Regions from separate parts of the Homo sapiens genome. Here all the other regions are linked to region 4. Evidence: promoter capture Hi-C in 16 types of primary human blood cells and fetal thymus (Javierre and others, 2016). All regions are on one chromosome and are shown on one strand. The core of a region is centred on a gene start or on the middle of the fragment in contact, and the rest is flanking DNA. Distances in the headings are between cores, read along the strand shown.

Evidence for each region. The method cuts DNA at HindIII sites, captures the fragments that hold promoters and counts their contacts. A CHiCAGO score of 5 or more calls a contact.
Region 1: a contact is called between the fragment with the promoter of PUM2 here and the fragment with the promoter of OSR1 in region 4, in 7 of 17 cell types (activated CD4 T cells, neutrophils, fetal thymus and 4 more). The highest score is 11.5, in activated CD4 T cells.
Region 2: a fragment that was not itself captured here is called in contact with the fragment with the promoter of OSR1 in region 4 in 2 of 17 cell types (megakaryocytes and endothelial precursors); the score reaches 8.8 in megakaryocytes.
Region 3: a fragment that was not itself captured here is called in contact with the fragment with the promoter of OSR1 in region 4 in 1 of 17 cell types (erythroblasts); the score reaches 5.3 in erythroblasts.
Region 5: a fragment that was not itself captured here is called in contact with the fragment with the promoter of OSR1 in region 4 in 3 of 17 cell types (megakaryocytes, endothelial precursors and erythroblasts); the score reaches 13.9 in megakaryocytes.
Region 6: a contact is called between a fragment that was not itself captured here and the fragment with the promoter of OSR1 in region 4, in 2 of 17 cell types (erythroblasts and megakaryocytes). The highest score is 10.3, in erythroblasts.
Region 7: a contact is called between a fragment that was not itself captured here and the fragment with the promoter of OSR1 in region 4, in 2 of 17 cell types (megakaryocytes and erythroblasts). The highest score is 7.1, in megakaryocytes.

Annotation. Positions count from the first base shown.
Region 1 is chr2:20,349,454-20,352,153 of GRCh38, forward strand. PUM2 (pumilio RNA binding family member 2) reads right to left here and starts at 1,391. Exons shown (of 21, transcript NM_015317.5): 1 at 1,144-1,391. RefSeq lists a silencer at 774-1,663 and enhancers at 859-1,488, 1,489-2,120, 1,824-1,913, 2,121-2,700. The HindIII fragment of the contact is 4,637 bases long and covers 674-2,700 here.
Region 2 is chr2:18,393,252-18,395,951 of GRCh38, forward strand. The region is part of intron 2 of LOC105373454 (a long non-coding RNA gene); the gene reads left to right. Among named protein-coding and RNA genes, the nearest start is that of RDH14, 170 kb to the right of the region's middle. The HindIII fragment of the contact is 7,094 bases long and covers 1-2,700 here.
Region 3 is chr2:18,481,656-18,484,355 of GRCh38, forward strand. All of the region lies in intron 4 of LOC105373454 (a long non-coding RNA gene), which reads left to right. Among named protein-coding and RNA genes, the nearest start is that of RDH14, 78 kb to the right of the region's middle. The HindIII fragment of the contact is 5,167 bases long and covers 1-2,700 here.
Region 4 is chr2:19,357,262-19,359,961 of GRCh38, forward strand. OSR1 (odd-skipped related transcription factor 1) reads right to left here and starts at 1,362. Exons shown (of 3, transcript NM_145260.3): 1 at 1,080-1,362. RefSeq lists enhancers at 1-40, 706-1,234. The HindIII fragment of the contact is 8,359 bases long and covers 1-2,700 here.
Region 5 is chr2:18,412,341-18,415,040 of GRCh38, forward strand. All of the region lies in intron 4 of LOC105373454 (a long non-coding RNA gene), which reads left to right. Among named protein-coding and RNA genes, the nearest start is that of RDH14, 150 kb to the right of the region's middle. The HindIII fragment of the contact is 651 bases long and covers 958-1,608 here.
Region 6 is chr2:18,430,133-18,432,832 of GRCh38, forward strand. All of the region lies in intron 4 of LOC105373454 (a long non-coding RNA gene), which reads left to right. Among named protein-coding and RNA genes, the nearest start is that of RDH14, 130 kb to the right of the region's middle. The HindIII fragment of the contact is 3,082 bases long and covers 1-2,700 here.
Region 7 is chr2:18,463,597-18,466,296 of GRCh38, forward strand. The region is part of intron 4 of LOC105373454 (a long non-coding RNA gene); the gene reads left to right. Among named protein-coding and RNA genes, the nearest start is that of RDH14, 96 kb to the right of the region's middle. The HindIII fragment of the contact is 153 bases long and covers 1,318-1,470 here.

The sequences.
Region 1 (2,700 bases), core at 141-2,640, 990 kb after region 4:
AATGAAGTAAATCATTGTTTAAAAGGAGGCTAGGAAGAGAAACAAGTTGAAAATACTCATTTTTGTTTTTTTTTTTTTATTTACAGGATTCCTTAAGTCATCTTCCAATACTCCAGGTCACATGGTGAAGAGTCACCTGTTAAACACGAAATCTAACCATTAAACAAGCTTTTAAAATCCTTCGGTAACTCCCTTTATTAAAATTGTTTTCTTGACATACAGTACCTTTACAGGTATTACATTTCTCTTCACCGTTTACAAGCATTTTTCTCATGTTTTCCTTCACCAAAACATCTGCCCCGTTTTCTCAACAAGTAAAAATCTCAAAGTACTAAGTCCTAACATGATGTCTTATTGCACCTAATATGCTGGCAATACATTCCTCTCTTCAAAAGTTTACGTATGTTAGAATAAAAAGCTAAGTTAAGTAGGTTTTCTCTGGCTGTGTTTTCAGAAACAACACTAACTTTTACACGTGTTTGGGCATGAAACTTTAAACATTTTCCCCAAAACCTGACCCAATTCAGATACAAAACTACTGCTCAAATAGTAGAAGCCGCTAATCTTGTCTTTGGTTTTAATTTACATATTTTTCTGAATATCGAAATCCGTTCCTATAACCTAAACAAGGCGAATCCAAGTCACTGCTTCATACCCACATCTGTCCACGGCAAGCTTTTCCCGGACACACTCGGGCCTTTGAAAATGCCCACACTTGTTTTCATAAACCCACTCCTTCCTCTTCACCCACTTGCAATCCGCATGCTTCTCTGGGGCCACCCGGCCTCTCCCCTCTTTCCGAACCCTAGGGCCGACAGCTCGGTCTCTAACCTCCAGCGCGCCGAATCGGAGGGAGAACCGGGTCGGCGCCCCACGCCCCCGAGGCGGCGGCCCCGCAGAGGGAAGGAAGCGGGAAAGCGGCCGGCGCGGCGCCCCCTCCCCCGCACGCGCACACCCCCTTCCGGCACCCCTCCCCCTGCATTGTGCGAGCGGGCCCCAGGCCGCACCGGCCCGGGCACTCAGCAGGCCCTATCCGCCCTCCCGCTGGCGATCGGCTCCCGCCGAGGCCGCCGCACAAAGCCTGGGGAGCCATCCTCGACGGCGCCAAAGGACCGGAGAAAGAGCGAACGCGGACTGACTTACAGGGCTGCTGCGGCCGCGCTGCCTCAGCCGGGGACACCGACCGTTGGGCACACGGCGGCGTCGCTCTTGGCGGTCCTCCCCCTCCTCCGCCTTCGGTGGCGGCAATGTCTTCTTTCTCCACCTACCACCCTCCCCCCCCACCCCACCTCCTCCTTCTCCTCCCCCTCCTCCTCCGAACCACCGAAGTACCGAGGGTGAGACACAGAGACTCACAACAACATGGCTGCCACCGCCGCCTGCCCTCCCCTCCCCCCCGCCCACCGGGCGCGCGCAGTGCACCCCGGGAGAAAGGGGAGGGGGAGCGCTCACCAAGGCGCGGCTCCTTTTAATGCCTTGCGTCCCTGCTCCCGCGCTGCCGCCGCGCGGGCCGGGGGCGCCCTGCGCGTGCGCACGTTCTCCGCGCTCTCACGTGTTTGGCCGCCTCTCCGGCGTGCCCTCCCCCGCCCTCACCTTGCGGGCTCGCGCTTCCCTCCTGGGCTCCGCCGCGGCGGGCTCGGAGAGCGCAGGCGTACTGTTGCCAAACGCTGTGTTCGACTGTCTTCCCGCGTGGGGCCTCGCCTTCTGAATCTTCTTACCCTCGGCTTCCTACCCGGTTGCTCACTGTTTTCCCCCAACTGGGTGTGCGGGTGTCTGCGCCCGCGCCGCCCACCGTGGGGTACTCCTGGCATTTCGCTTCCAGAGTGCTGGCGCCCACAAGAGCCGGACGTTAATTCAGGCCTTTAACTTTCACTCTGTACCTCCCCACAACCAGACGAGGGAGATGCATCTGGGGGTGGAAGATTGTACCCTGCGAGAGGGCTGTCACTCTTCTCGTGGTTGCACCCCAGGCAGGTGGAGCCAGCTCTCAGCAAATTGTCGGCCCCCAGTGCTTGGTCCCGGTGCACACAAAGGAAACTCAGGTCGTTCTCCAGCTGGGCCAGTGATTCTCACTCGTTGGCTGTTTCTTTTTCTCGCGTACTAAGCGCTCTCTCCTTCCCCGTTTACAGGCTAGTTGGAAACTCCAAATCTGCCTTGCTGTCCTGGACCCCCATGCAAAGCAGTGGTGATTCCAGGATTCTAACCTAACCGGCTCCAGGTCACACAGCTGTAACAGGCACCGTGTCCGATTTGTTCTTGATGGTTTGTTTGCACAGCTCCTGGCTCTCCTGACATGCTGCACTTCGTAAATATTCAGGGCCTCCCGTATAGTTTGCTTAATATATGTCTTCCCTAGGCGACTGTGAGCTCCACGAGGGCAAGGACCTTGTGTTTTGTTTCACACTGTGCCCGCAAGTGCCTGTTGAATACACATGGGCTCTTCGGTTTTTAACTATTACTGAAAAATGTCTGACATTGAAATCCATCCCAAGCCCCTACCTTAGGCTCATATTTCAGGCTTCTAGATATTTTCACTTGAATTTTCTTGTCACCAAGCATGTTAAAAACTGAAGTCACACCCATCCCCTACCCCCCACTCTTGTACTGTCTCTGTAATTGGCAGTGTCACCACCTATTCATTCCCCAAATTACACCTCTGAGAACCATCCTTGTCTCTTCCTCTTACCCCGACTCCAAATA
Region 2 (2,700 bases), core at 47-2,546, 960 kb before region 4:
CCCGGCCGTGAAAGATCTTTACAATGAGAATTATAAACCACTGCTCAAAGAAATCAGAGATGATACAAACACAAATGGAAAAACATTCCATGCTTATAGATGGGACGAATCAATATCGTTAAAATGGCCATACTGCCCAAAGCAACTTATAGATTCGATGCTATTCCTATCAAACTACCAGTGATATTCTTCACAGAATTAGAAAAAAGCTACTTCAAAATTCATATGAAACAAAAAAGAGCCCAAATAACCCAGGCAATCCTAAGCAAAAATAACAAAGCAGGAGGCATTATGCTACCCAATTTCAAACTATACTACAGGGCTACAGTAACCAAAGCAGCATGGTACTGGTACAAAAACAAACACATAAACCAATGGAACAGAATAGAGATCCCAAAAATAAAGCCACACAACTACACCAATCTGATCTTATATGAAACTGACAAAAACAAGCAATGGGGAAAGGACTCCCTATTGAATAAATGGTGCTGGGTTAACTGGCTAGCCATGTGCAGAAGATTGAAACTGGACCTCTTCCTTACACCATATACAACATCAACTCAAGAAGGATTAAAGACTTAAACGTAAAACCAAAAGCTACAAAAACCCTGGAAGACTAGGCAATATCATTCTAGACATAGGACCTAGCAAAGATTTCATGGCAAAGATGCCAAAAGCAATTGCAACAAAAGCAAAAATTGACAAATGGAGATCTAATTAAACTAAAGAGTTTCTGCACAGCAAAAGAAGCTAACAAAAGAGTAAACAGAAAACCTACAGAATGGGAGAAAATTTTCACAAACTATGCATCTGACAAAGGTCTAGTATCCAGTATCTATAAGGAAATTAAACAAATTTACAAGGGAAATAACAACCCCATCAAAAAGTGGGCAAAGGACATGAACAGACACTTCTCAAAAGAAGACATATATGTGGCCAAAAATCATATGAATAAAAGCTCAACATCACTGATGGTTAGAGAAATACAAATCAAAACCACAATGAGATATCATCTCACATCAGTCAGAATGATTATTATGAAAAAGTCAAAAAATAACAAGCTGGAGAGGCTGTGAAGAAAACAGAACACTTACACAATGTTGGTGGAATTGCAAATTAGTTCAACCATTCTGGAAAGCAGTGTTTTGATTCCTTAAAGAGCTAAAAACAGAACTACCATTCAACTCAGCATTCTTATTACTGGGTATATACCCAGATAATATAAAACATTCTACTATAAAGATGCATGCATGCATATGTTCATTGCAGCACTATTCACAATAGCAAAGATATGGGATCAACCTAAATGCCCATCAATGACAGATTGGATAAAGCAAGCATGGTTCATGTACACTATGGAATACGATGCAGTCATAAAAAAGAATGAAATCATGTCTTTGCAGAAACGTGGATGGAACTAGAGGCCGTTATTCTTAGCAAACTAATGCAGGAACAGAAAACCAAATACGGCATGTTGTCATAAGTGGGAGCTAAATGATGAGGACACATGGACACATAGAGGGGAACAACAGACACTGGTGCCTACCAGAAGATGAAGGGTGGGAGGAGAGAAAGGAGAAGAAAAAAAATAACTATTAGATACTAGGCTTAGTGTTTGGGTGACAAAATAATCTGTACATCAAACCTCCATTACACAAGTTTACCTATATAACAAAACCTGCACATGTACCCCTCCCTGAACTAAAAGTTAAAAAAAAATTTTTCTTAATAATGCTCCACCTTGTAGAAGAGTTAAGTAATTCTTATTGTGCCTCTTGGGACATCTTATCCCCAAACTCCAACAGGTCCTTTTATTTGGTGACAGGGGGAAGACTCTTTATAATTCAGAAAAAAATTAAAATGCACAAATTTCATATACTAGGATAATAACTATGGAAAATAACATGCAGACAAGTGCTTGGGAAAAAAATTTTGAAGTAAAAGTGTTAGGATAGGGCAGTGATTTTCAACGTGTAAGCAGCAGCATCCTCATTGCCTTGAGACTCTTTAGAAATACAAATTATCAGGCCCCATCTCAGAAATACTGAGTCCAAAACTGGAGTGGCGGGTGCACACCAGTGCTTTAACAAGTCCCCAGGTGATTCAGATTCACCCTGGAGTTTGAAAGCCGCTGTTGTGAAGAAATGCTGAAAATTCTTTAACTTTTTTAAATTATATACTTATAAGTAGAGTTTTTTAAACAATGCTTGCAGAGTTACAGACATAAAAAAAGACGCCTCTATTATTTAAGGAAGATCTATACAGGCAAAATAGAATTGGTGGCAAAGCCAGTAATCTGAGATGTTTTTGGTTTAGAAAGTTGCTCTTTGTGCATCAGAAATGCCTGACTCAGGGAGTTATTGATCAGCATTGAACTAGGAGTTCAGACACAGGTGTTCCTATATCACGTTCTTGGGGCTGGTAAAACATAGTCTCATCTTAGGCTGATCAAGGCTTAAACTATGAAACCTGGTCCTCTGCCAGCTTGCTGATGGAATTAGAGAGAACCACTGAAAGAATCAATCAGCTAATGAGATTTTATACAACAACTTCCATGTGCTGGGCACCCGGCCTGGTGCGGTTGGCCGGGAGGGGATGGATAGGATACGGTTCCTCTGACCCAGAAGTCACAGACAATTTAAGACTTTCATCTTTGAAAAAAAGCACTCTGCACCCCAGGCTTTGTGCAGCTGGTGCAGG
Region 3 (2,700 bases), core at 138-2,637, 880 kb before region 4:
TCACTCTTTTAAGCACTGTGTTAGTCTGCCTCCTCCAAAGAAGCCACAGTCTAGTGGCTTTACACTTAAGTCAAAGAGAATTTTTTGCATGCTTTTTTTCTCCAATATGAACAAGGGATAAGACCCCTTAGACAAGCATCTGGCAATCTGACTAAAGAAACAAGCAGCATATCTCTATGGGGACCACAGGCAAAGGCTATAGAAGTTCATAAGAGGAGAGAGCTGGGAGAAAGCTGGGTGTCAGGAAAGGGGGCCTGGTGGAGTGAGAAACATAACTGGGCTCTTAAGAACAGATAGGGGTTAGAGCACCAGAAAGACTGAGTTGATATTTTAGGTGATGGGAGGAGCTTACCTTACCACATGGTCAATGATATTGTCAATTCCAGCACTGAAAGAAGGGATTCCTTTTCTAGCACTAACTGTACTGGCTTTCCTTGGGTCCTGGTGATTAGATAGATTGTCACCTTGAGGAGAAGAAGAGGACAGGATGTCTCATACATTTATAAGTCTGCCACTGATTTTCTGCCCTTATCCACACCTTCCAAAGACAGATGACCCTCTTTGCCAAACTTAGAGCCCAGCACTGGTTTGGAGATCAGAATAGGGCTAGAAATTATGAAAATGGAGACAGGAAACAAGAAGATCCTCATTGCCCTCAGATCCACAGGAGAGTCCTGGGGCTTAATGCTGCTGGTGCACGGTAAGCACCAGGAGGCAGGGAGCACATCTACCTTGCTCATCAAAGTGTTCCCAAGGTGGCATGTGGCCATGTTCAGTAAGTACTTGTTAAATGAGGAAATGAATAAATGAATTGCCAAATAACCAAACAAATGAGTTTGCATAGAGTGCACTTAAAAACTAACAACAGGTTTCTGGAGTATTTAGGGTGGAAATGGGATGCCCCCATCCTAAAAGGCAGTCTGAGGTGAGAAAGAGTCCTGTGTCCAGAGATAGGGCTTTTTCCTGGCTAGAAAACTCCATGCTTCCTTCTAGAGGAATTGAGTAAATTGTGTTGGGACATATACAAGATCAACCATTATAAAATTTACTACACTTAATTCTAAAACTTTCTTTTCCAGGCACTAGGATCTCAGGGGCAAATCTCTTTTGTGGTAAGCTGACCTCTAGAATTGTCACAATCATATAGCTACAGACACTTATATTTGAAGCATTCTTACACTTTATGAAGATCAACTAGATATAATGTCATCTTTGCCAGCAGGTGGCTACACTTGAATGACTCAATACACAAAACTTCATTACCCTTTGTAATAAATTGCTGTCTCCTCATAAAGTACTTACTGTATGGAAAGATTTCAGAAAAAGGAAACAAGTGATCTCCTGCTAAGAAGTATTAAAGCAAACTTTAGCCCCCTGAAAATAACTATGTAAAGTGCATTTGGATCCTGGATAGGAAACTAGTTTACCCCATGTAAATACAGAAGAATAGCCGCTAGGGTGTTGATGGTGGTGCTTGCTAAAGTGATAGAATAGTAATGATTCCATTTGTTTATTTTGACAGCTTCACTGACTGGGAAACCTGCTATTCTCCACACACCTCCATATTCCCATGATGAAGTTATGTCTCTGTCTTTTTTTTTACTGTACCTGGAATAATGTTGCCCATGCTATTCCTCCAGGCAGACAAAACCTTCCTTGCCCTTTGTACCATCCCATCCAAGGCCCATGAAGCCTTTCTAGATGCTCCCTGTCTGGATTAATCAGCCACCTGCATTGTTCCTGTGGTTCTTTATCAAGCCACTTTCTGCCTCTATTTCACTCTCCCTAAGGTTACACTAGGTTGTTTGCAGAACTGTGACATGGCAGAGAGCAAATGTGTTTGAATCAGGACTCCCAGATTTAAAGTCCAACCTGTACTCTCTCCTAACTGTTGAATTTTAGGGAAGTTACAGAGTCCTTATGGTCTCCATGTATTTCAGACACTTGTAATAATACCAATTCAGATGAGTTTATGGAGCTGCTGTAAGAAAATATATATGAAAAATGCTTTCAGACAGTAATGCTGACATGTGTGCATGTATGAGAGACAGTCGCTGCAAAATGTGCAACAAGAGCTGAAGTTTTATTCACACACTTATTGGATGACCTTGAACAAGCCTTCCCCTCTCTGGGCCTTGGTTTCTGAACCTAGACCAAGGGTTCCTAGCCTGGGATCCTCAGAGGGGCTTTAGGAGAGTCACGAAACCCCTGAGATTGCATCCACCGTTGTGCCTTCTGGTGCCTTTTTCTAGGTTCAGCAGTCACCGCTTTCATCAAATTCTCAAAGAGAACTGAGACTCAAGGGACGTTAGGAAACTTGAGCCAGATGCTCATGAGGTCCCCCACCCCATCCAGGTCTGACAGTTTATGTCCCTGGAAACTTTAGTCCAACATGTTCTTGTAAAAGGCACAGAAACACATTTTGCAAGACCAGAAAGGGACTATCACAGATGAGGAAACTGAATCCTGGAAGAGTGAGGTCAGGTGCCAGATGTTAGGAGTTGGCAGAGACTCTGCAAACCTAACAGAGCTCCAGTGAGAGGGGTAATCACAGAGTCACGGGTCATTTTCTCCTTAGATTTTAAAATCAGGGTGGAGTGGTCAATAGAAAACCCAGAAAAAAAAGTCTTGTTTTGTAAATAGAAATCATTTAATTAAAAAAAAAACTGGATTTGGATTATAATTTTGTAACGTCCTGCC
Region 4 (2,700 bases), core at 112-2,611:
TAGGGGGTTGTGAACCTGGGACACCTAGCCTTGCACGTGGTTTTGTTCCGCAGAGCCAATGCGCAGCTCTTAGCCTGGGTGAAATTTACCAAATTGTGGCAACAAAGAAACCCTTGCGGCTACTTTACACATTGAGAACCCAACCCGCTACTGCCTGAGCTGCTGAAAAAGGACTAAACGTGGTTTTTCATTCTTCTCCGAGACATTTCCGAGGAGAAATTAGTTCAGCAGGCAGCCCTTCACCCCTTTCCCCCTTCTTTCTCTCCTGACGGCTGGATTAGCGGACAGTCAGGGGAGTAACAGAACTTTTCCTGTCCCCAGCCCGGAGACCCTAGGGCTCCACAGAGTTTCCACTAGTGCTGTGTGTGGGTCTCGAATTGGAAAGCAGTGCTTGCGCCCACTGCATTGCCTCCCTGCACCAGGACAATCAAGGGTTCCGCTCCAGGCCTTGACGACACAGAGCAATCATCCTATGGAGAATATCCCTAAGTTAGAGCGCGAGTGCAAGGCGGGGTTCAGACTCGCAGCCCTGCGCTCTCGGGTCTAGGCGGCCTCATACTAGAGCGCAACTCCTCAAAAGACAAACTTGAACGAAAGCGCTACCGAGCTGGGGCATGCACCTGTCCCTGGCGCGGTCGGCTGCGGCTGTGGCCATTCACTCCCTCTCCCTTCCTTCTTCGTCAACCTGGGCGTCAGCCAGAGCTAGGAGCGCGTCTCAGGAAAGTTTGTGCCCGCTGAAGTTGCTCTGGTTTCTTAAAGGGGGCCCACAGATTGACTTTCAAAGTCCGTGGGCACCTCGCCCGTGATTCCGCAGAGCCGGGCGGGCTGGCCGCAGTAGCGGAGGCCCGCCCCCCTTAATCCCCAGCGGTCAGAGGCCGAGGACCCCGCGCAGGAAGTCCTGAGGCAGCACCCCCAACCACCCTGCTCTCACTTTCACAAAAGTCCTACAGCATTCGTTTGGCAAGAGCTTCCTTCAGGGGCATTGAGAGAGAGGAGGCACCCGCCGAGCAGTGACAAGGAACCTGGGAGTCCTGCCCGCATTCGCTTTGCTGAGCCCAGGCGCCCAGGACTGCAATTACCTTGTTCCGCAGAGGTCCTGGGGCTGAGCACGTCTCTGGGGCTTTAGCTGAAGGGGACTGGGGAAGCCGGAGGCCCTGGAGCCCACAGGCGCCCCTGGAGCTCTAGTGTCCCGACTCCTCTCCTGCCGCGGGGACTCCAAGCGCCGGACACGCGGGAGCGAGCGCTCAGCAGCCCCGGATCCTGCACGCCGGGGACGGTGAGCCTCGCTCGCGGCTCCCTCGCTGGGTCTGAACCAGGAGCAGCTGAGAACGTGCCGGGGAGAGGCCGAGCTCCGACTCACTCATCCCTTAGCACCGAGCCGCCTACTTATTTTAATCCACCACCCTCCCTCCTCCACCACCCCCACCCCCGCCCCTTGCCTCAGGATTCCTCCCCTCCCTCCCCTGCCCCCCAACCCTGCCCTGCGCCTGCGCAATGAAAGACAAAGTTTTTGCTGACCCGGGCAGCAGACTTTGGCAGCTGCTCTCGCTTGGACCCGGCCTCTCCCAACCTGCGTCCCCTCCTCTTCAGTCCCGCGCGACCCCTGCTGCCTTTTTAGGTCCAGAGCGGCACGCCTGGCGCACTGGAGGAAACGGTCCCTAGCAGATGAGAGCGGGCTGGCACCGCACGTTTCGAGGTCCTATACTTGGGCTCCTAGGACACAGCCCGTGCTCTTTGGGAGGAGGGAGGGAGGGGCAGTAGCTCTGTGCACCGGGATCCCCACACCGCGGCTTGGGTTTCAACGCACTTTGGCGCCTGACAGAGTCGCATCTCCTCCCAGAATCTCTTTCCAGAGGCGGCAGACCCCGAGTGTGGAGCAGCTCCTGGCTATCCAAGCGTGCTCGGGGCCAGGGTGTTAACCCAGGCAGCGCTGGTTAATTCCTGGTGCGGGAGGGCCAGGGTCACCGAAGCAAGCGAGCTGTAACATCTGAGTGCTTATGGTTGACCCCAGACCCTAAGTTCTGGAGTCCAGTAGAAAGAACAAAGAGTAGGGAAAGGAGGTCAGGAAAGTTATTTTCCTGGGGCCCAGAACTCTCTGAGATTTCACCCCAATGCACAGTGGCACTCTCTACTTACATATTTGTTTTAGGATGGATCAGAGTTTAGAGAGCCGCACTGGCAAGCTAGACGAGCTGCAAAGTTGTCAGTTCCAGGGCCTCTGAGTCAAGGAGCTGGTTCAGGTGGAGTTTTTAATCGGAAAGGAATCAGAGTTCTGGACATTAAAAATTCTATCTTCATTGCCTAGGCATTATGGAGGGTACCATCACCCCCTTGACTACCCATCTCTGAAAGCTGACCTCCGGCTGACCCCAGCCCAATCCCTCCCTAATGCCTTTCTGGAATACCCTTCCAGGCCTTGGGTTTGGCAAGGAGGAGTCACTGGTTTCCTGGGACTTGTGTGGGTCCAGATCACACAACTGCACTCTCTGCCTTTGCCCCAGAGTTGCTGCTGAGTGACTCTTGGAGCTGGATCCTAGATTCCGTGGGTCCCTAAGTACTGTACTGCTTCTCTCCCGAGGAGCTTCTGCTATCTCCAGCTTTGGTTTGCAAAGCTAATCTGATTTTCTTGGGAGGTGAAGAAGGTTGTAATACCTGACCTAGGGAGATGGTAATGAAGACTCCCCTCCCTCAAAGGCATAG
Region 5 (2,700 bases), core at 33-2,532, 940 kb before region 4:
ATTTATGGTAACTCAATTAGAGAAATTACCATTCGCTTATAATCTTTCTCTTTAAATTGAAATATTGGAGTGTAATTTAAACTTTGGAAACTTTAAATTCTAGCTGTTCTGTCATTACATACAGAACAGCTTTCCCCCAAAATATTTTCAATTGGAACATTTTTAAATTTCATCATATAGTAATATCTAGGCTTTTCCCTATGCCCATTTCATTCTCTCAGTGAAAGATTGTCTGCTTTAGGAGTAAAAATAGCTCTTTCAGGTCTCATTACTACTAATAACAATTTTTTAAAATAATGTTAAACACAATGCTACATCTCAATGTAATGTTACTTAGTGCAAGGGCAACGCCTTGCAAACCTCAGAAGAGCCTAGAAAATAGCAGAATCTAAAATTTTAAGTTATTAAGAAAATACTAGATTATAATGAATGAGATTATTCTAATGAAGGGACAAAATATATAAAGCAATTTTAGAAAGATTTATATTTGAAATAATGATTTTTTAAAAGTTTGAACCCTATAACACAACTCATTCCCTAATGGCTTTCTGATACCTGAGATTTTTCCAATTAGCTTAAAACATGACATTTTTAACTATCAGTATAAGTCAATATAGTTACTGTTTGTTACGTATTTGCTTTAAAATAAGTTCTTTATACATATTATCTCACTAAATATAATTTCTAGTTTCTTGTTTGGAAGTTGAAGCAGAGAGGTTAAAAAATTTCCCCAAAACACATAGTTGGTAAGTGATAGAAATGGAATTTGACATAGAAATATATGAAAATATGCATATTTTCACTATCCTACATTGCTTTTTCCTGATTCTAGGGTTAATATGAGTCATCATGGAACATAGTGAGTAATTTGGTACTATAAAGGAATTTGCTTGTTTTTTTTTAAAAAAAAGGTATTTACATTTCAAAGCAACCAAATTAGAATAGAAAGAATTTTTAAGCTTCTTTTTTAAAGGAGAATTTTCAGTTCATTATTTAAGAAACTTAATGTATGTTTTCATTTTAAGTCAAAAAATATTCCGATTTAAAGATGTATCGCCTTGTCTAATGTAGTTATGAGCCCTTCTCAAAACAGTCAGTCTGGAAGCCTGAAGAAATCGTAATGCAACTTCCAAAAGTCTCTAACCCTACTAGGGAGTAGCTTTGGCAGTAGGAGAATTTGGCTCTGCAGATTTCAGCCAAGACCCAGCCCAAGAAGTCAATTAGCTAGGAAAGATTAAACATCTGAAAATGTAAATTATTAGTTCAGTTGCAACTCTATGTGTTACATGTGTAGAAATGCAAAAACACATTTGTTCAAAGGATTTATCATTAACTGCCACATTGGACAGTACGAATACTTAGATATGCTTGCATAAACACATGAGTCACCTTTCATAAAATACAATTTTCCATGTAAGCAAACTATTGATGAATGTGGAGTCTAAGACATTTTCTCTTTGGCTGTTGTAAAATTTTCTATGAACGATAAGAAAGAACATCTTTGAATGCAGTAAGTTCAAGAGGATAGCTTGTCACTGAGGGGAAGGGAAGCCAAGGGATCCCAACATCTCTCACTCCCATGTTCTAATGCAAGCATGCTTGCCAGGAAGCTTTCACTGTCTGAGATGAGTCATGGGTCCTGTGAGTTTCCTCCAGTTTAGGAAAAGAGAGACACACAGCTTCCTCCTGATGTCTTCTGAAGTTGACACTGTTTAAATGTGGCTTATCATAGAATTTTGAGGTCTTTCTTTTTCTTTCTTTCTTTCTTTCTTTCTTTTTTTTCTAAGTTAGAACAGAGAAAGAAATGCAAAGGGGCATTGAGGGTATGTCCACTCTGTGGATCCTATTCCAGGTGACTCATGTTTCTGTATCTCTTTCAAAATAAGTGCTTAGCCATATTAGTGGAATTAAGAAAGATGAGAAAATTCTGTTGTTTTTCAAACTCTTTTTTTATTTTGAGGTCTAGTTCTGGAAATAATGACTGTCCAGCAAATACCACCCAAACACTGATATCAATTGCAGCTTTAACAAAAAGCAACTTCCAGTCCCACCCTAACTGCAGCCCCCTGAAAGTAATTATTTAATAGCTCTTCTTCTCCCCTCAAAATTTCCCTGCACTCTCTTTGTTGCCTCTCTAGTTAGGATATATTTGTGTTTGATCATACTAGGTGGTAATCATTTTTCAATTTGTCTGTCCCTCTCCTCTGAGCTATGAGACTCCTAAAGATGTAGGCTATTTTATAAATATTTTTAAAAGGCTAATCCTTAGTACTACTGGAACTGCCATAGAGACAGTACTTCACATTGGAGCAACATTAAAAATTTGAATTTATTAACAAGACATTTATTAATAAAGATAGGATAATTTATTATATTAGTTTGATTCTAGACTTCTAGTGTTAAATTCTAAATTTTGTTAGCATAGAAAATTTCTTATAAACATTATCTTTGGGTTAAGTGCTATTTACCTTTTAGAATACTATCATTTTTCTATTCTAATAAAATATGACGTTATAAATGCTATGGCAACATACAATAAGATTTTTTAAATAGAGAAAATACACATAATTCAACATCTTAATAGCATTTCTACCACTATTCTTATGGGGTATTTTCCTGCAATTTTTGTAAAACTATTTATATTGAATTGCTACAGACACAAACAATTGTAACCGTAGTTAAACTAATGGTGAGAAAATT
Region 6 (2,700 bases), core at 180-2,679, 930 kb before region 4:
CAGGCCCCTATGGATCCACTGCCACTAACAGCCTCCAAGTGAGACAAGGTTGAAGATGGCAGTAATGAAACTGACATGATTTTGTCTCACATCTCCTTAAAACAATACCAAAACAAAAATATTTTAGCTACACTCTCTCAAGGGACTTAAAATCTATTGGGAGAGAAAGACAAAGACAAGTCAACAGAACGTTTGATTCAGGGTGGTGAGTGCTAACGAAGGCACACAGCATTGGTTTTAAGAATAGGGTGGCTGATGGCGTTTAACTCAGTGCAGTGTTCAAGGAGCTCCAGCCCAATCGGTGCCTTGGCATGATGTGTATTTAAAAAAATATTTAAGAACAAAAAGAAGAGGCTTCAATTTTTAAAAATATGTTCAGTAAAAGTACATTTGATGTGGCCAAATAAATCACTAATGACTGAAGTTGGTGAAGTAATGAAGCAACGAATTTTAGTCACTCTAAAATCAATCTCAGCAACACATCGCTAAGTATTCAAATTCTACCCATCCTGACAGGTCAAACTCAGGTTTACCTTCTAGAAACTCTTCCAGACGACCAGAACCAGTAAGAATCACACAATTCTGATTTCATAAGACTCCCAAAACTATGTTGGCGTTTCTAAGCCAGCTCCTGCCTGGGCCTCTTGTCTCAGTATAAGGCACCACTATTCAATTCCACAGCAAGTTCTGTAGGCCCGACTGCCAAACATATCTGGATTCTCTCCACATCACTAGTAGCACCTTGTCCAAAACAACATGATTTATTGCTTGAAGAATTGTGTTATCTCTTAACTAGTCCCCCTCCTTCTATCCCATTCCTTCCACCATCTATTTTCGGCAGAGCAGTAATTATGATCTCTTGCAAACATGAACAATGTTAATCATTTGCCTAAAACTCTCCAATGTCTTCCCATTGCACTTGAAATGAAATTGAGGCACCTTACCTTGACCTAAAAGGCTTTATATGACCATGTCCCTATAGACCTCTCTGAAAATTTCTTCCATCCTTCTCCTCCTTGCAATATAAGCCCCAACCACAATGGCTTTCTTTGTGTTTTCTGAACAAATAAGGTTATTGTTAGCCTTAGGGCTCTTGCATATGGTTTTCCTGCCTGTAAACACTCTCGTTTATCTTAACAGGTCTATCTTTGCAGTCTTAGCTCAAGCATCACTTTCTCAGTGAGAATTCCTCCAATCCTTTAGTCTAAATTACTCCATCCTCACTCATCCTCTATCATTCAAGCACAACCATGCCACTCTTCTCCATTTTCTTTATTGCTCTTAACAACTAAAATCATCTTCATTTATTGTTACTTGTTTATTATGTATCTCTTCCCCACACAGACACTAGAATATAAATGTCATGAGAACTGGGACCTTGTCCGTGTTTTCACCATTGTGTCCCAGTGTCTAGATCAATACGAAGCACACAATAGATGCTTAACAAATATTTATTCAATGACTGAATAACAAATGCAGTGTTGTCTCTCTCTCTCTCTCTTTGGAAACAGCATCTCACTCTCTGTCACCCAGTCTAGAGTGTAGTGGTGTGATCGTAGGTCACTACAGCTTTTTTGAACTCCTGGATTCAAGTGATCCTCCAGCCTCAGCCTCTTGAGTAGCTAGGACTACAGGCACATGCCATCATGCCTGGCTAATTTTCATATATATATATATATATATATATATATATGTATGTATAGGTATATGTGTATGTATGTATTTGTAGAGACAGGGTCTCAATTTCTTGCCCAACTTGGCCTCAAACTCCAGCTTCAAGCGGTCTTCCTGCCTTGGTCTCCTAAAGTGCTGGGATTACAGGTGTGAGCCACCATGCCCAGATGCAGTGTTGTCTCTTGTTCTCAATTGCTTAAATATATTAATTGTGGTCTTTTAACTCCATAAGCTCCATGAAAGAAGACATCATTTTATTGTTCTCCACACATGTAGTTGCCTTCAGCAAATACACATTTAGCTGTTTTGGAAAGGAGAATAAGGAATGGTGTTCTAGGATTTCTGCTGAATACCTTTTGGGTCCCTCTTGTGTTTTAGAGTCTCTGTCCTTGGTCAGCTTTCCTTCGTTGTTTATTTGAAGAGATTAAGGCCATTTCTTGTGAGTGGTTTCTATTTCTCCTTTGGTAAACTCATACTGGGCCATCTAAGAAATCTAGTATGAGCAGGTCTCCCCCTTCTTTTGGCTCTCTGGTCCTGTGACTCTATTTCCACTTCTAAGTGTCTTACATACCACAGGAAACTCTATCTCACAACAGCTTCCAGGCTCTTATCTGTAGAAATAAGAAACAAACAAGTAAAAAAAAAAAGTAGCAGCAATGACTAGCATCTGCAAGAGTATACTGTGCTTTACCAAAACTTCAACTTTGAACTTCTAGAAATACTTACCAACTTGCCTTAATAGCCATCATCATTGCATTTATGGCACTTTGGTCCTGTCTCCCTATGGCCAAAGGAAGTTCTCTCTGTATCTCTTTTACTGTCAGTGTATCCCTGAAACCAGCAAGATTTGTGAATGATGTGCCTCAGGAGATTGCATTAGGGTAGCCTGGGTCAGACAGACTCTGCTCTCTGTGTGAAGTAATCCTATCTGTGTGTGCTCTGGTTTTAAAGTTGACCCTCATTAATCATGGCCTTGGTTCCCTTAGACATTCCAGAGCTGATCTATTCTCATTTTCCCGTGAGCAA
Region 7 (2,700 bases), core at 144-2,643, 890 kb before region 4:
CAGAGGGGCACCCACCAGATGCCAGTTGGAGCTCTCCTGTATGAGGTGCCTGTTGACCCCTGCTGGGAGGTGTCTCCCAGTCAGGAGGCATGGGGGTCAGGGACCCACTTGAGGAGGCAGTCTGTCCCTTAGCAGAGTTTGAGCGCTGTGCTGGGAGATCCGCTGCACTCTTCACAGCTGGCAGGCAGAAATGTTTAAGTCTGCTGAAGCTGTACCCTGTTCCCCCAGGTGCTCTGTCCCAGGGAGATGGGAGTTTTATCTATAAGCCCCTGACTGGGGCTGCTGCCTTTGTTTCAGAGATGCCCTGCCCAAAGAGGAGGAATCTAGAGAGGCAGTCTGGCTACAGCGGCTTTCCCAAGCTGTGGTCCAGTTTCGTGCTTGAAACCCAGGGCCCTGGTGGTGTAGGTACCAGAGGGAATCTCCTTTCCTGTGGGTTGTGAAGACCATGGGAAAAGCACAGTATCTGGGCCGGAATGCACTGTTCCTCACGGCGTTGTCCCTCATGGCTTCCCTTGACTAGGGGAGGAAGTTTCCCGACCCTTTGCGCTTCCCAGGTGAGGTGATGCCCCACCCTGCTTCTGCTTGCCCTCTGTGGGCTGCACCCACTGTCTAACCAGTCCCAGTGAGATGAGCCAGTTACCTCAGTTAGGAATGCAGAAATCACCTGCTTTCAGCATTGATCTCGCTGGGAGCTCCAGACTGGAGCTGTTCCTATTTGGCCACCTTGCCAGCCAGCCTTGCATATTGTTTATAAATTTAAGGACAATAATGAAATCCATGCCCAGATAAAAAGGGCATTTTAACCTATGAGGCAGAGCTGTGAAATGCTTCCAATTATTTGGCCTTCAAAAATGTTCCGGGCCAAGTGCAATGGCTCACACACCTGTAATACCAGAGCTTTGGGAGGTCAAGGCTGGAGGATTTCTTGAGGCCAGGAGCTCAAGACTGGCCTGGGAAACATTGTGAGACCCGATCTCTACAAAAATGTGTTAAAAATTAGCCTGTTGTGGTGGCACACACCTGCAATCCCAACTACTCAGAAAGCTGAGGCAGAAGGATGGCTTTAGCCCAGGAGTTCCAGGCTGCTGTGAGCTATGATCATACCACTACTGCACTCCAGCATGGGGAAACAGAGTGAAAGCCTGTCTCTAACAAAACAAAACAAAGAATTTTCAGATGTGCGATTGTCTAGTCAAGGAGGCTGCACTTCTACATTTACATAAAAGAGAGGAAAAATTTTAGATAAATAAATGTCATCCTTAATGTGTGAACAAAAGGACATTAATCACAAGTAAATGTAAAATATTTGCTCCAGAAAGCTTGAAGATCAATTGAGTCCATGGGAGTAAATTACTCAATGATCTCTTGAAGATACAAGAATAGAAAGAGAAGATTATTTAATTACAAAGAAGGTCTCTGTGGAGAACATGCCATTCACAATCCATCAATATGAATTCAGAACATCGGCCAAGCTTTCTGTTCTAACCTCATGACACAAGCTTTCTGTTCTAACCTCATGACACCGAAGCCTGGATATCTCCCAGACATTCTAGGAAAGATTACTTAGGGGTGTTCATTGTTCTCTAGAGTCCTTAGCTGGTCTGAGGTCATAATATAGACACTAATTTTTGTTCTGTTAAATCAGCAATCTACCTTCCATGTATTTGCTTAAAGTATCTTTTACCAAGACCACTATATTTCCTTTAATAATTCAATAATAACACAGTCATACTACTGAAAACTGTGATGTGAATTAGATCACATTATACAAAACCCTCTTGCTATACTAAGGGGGTGGTCTGTTAGGAAAGAGTGCCGTATACTGCTAGGAGTCAGTGTGCAAGGTCTTCTTCCTATAAGAACAATGTTCCTATAGGGAATATCCAAACATTTTCTAAGGTATTCTCTAAGTAACTTACTGCTTTCAAGGGAGAAGCATGGTCATACCACTTGGAAACTGCCATTGTCCTAAATGGCTTGAAAGCTAAATACGACTTTTTCTCTAAGCGCTTCTATGATTATTGTCTTTAGTAATATAAAAAGAAAAATTGCTGGATAAAGTAAAAATAAACAAATACATAAGTGTATTAGTCCATTTTCACGTTGCTGATAAAGACATACCAGAGACTGGGTAATTTGTAAAGAAAGAGAGGTTTAATGGACTCATAGTTTCACATGGCTCATCAGGCCTTACAATCATGGCAGGAGGCAAGAGGCACATCTTACATCACAGTAGACAAGACAGAATGAGAGTCAAGTGAAAGGGGTTTCCCCTTATAAAACCATCAGATCTCGTGAGACTTATTCACTACCATGAGAATAGTATTGGGGAAATTGTCCCCATGGTTCAATTATCTCCCACTGGGTCCCTCCCACAACAGGTGGGAATTATGAGAGCTACAACTCAAGATGAGATTTGGGTGGGGACCAGCTGAACCATATCAATAACTATAAAATTATTTATAATTTAATAAAAAAGTTATTAAAACAGATTTTAATAACTTAGTTAAAGCCTCTGGATCCAGCGGTGCCTTCAGCCCCATCTCCGAATTTTCCATTTATGGGGTGAGTTAGAGTTTTGGCATTTGCTGAAAGAAGGATCATGACTCACATACCCTTCTTTACTTTCTAATAGCATGGCTGATATTCAAGATTTAAACAAGACTTTGCTAAGCATACGGAATAACAGTAGAAAAATTA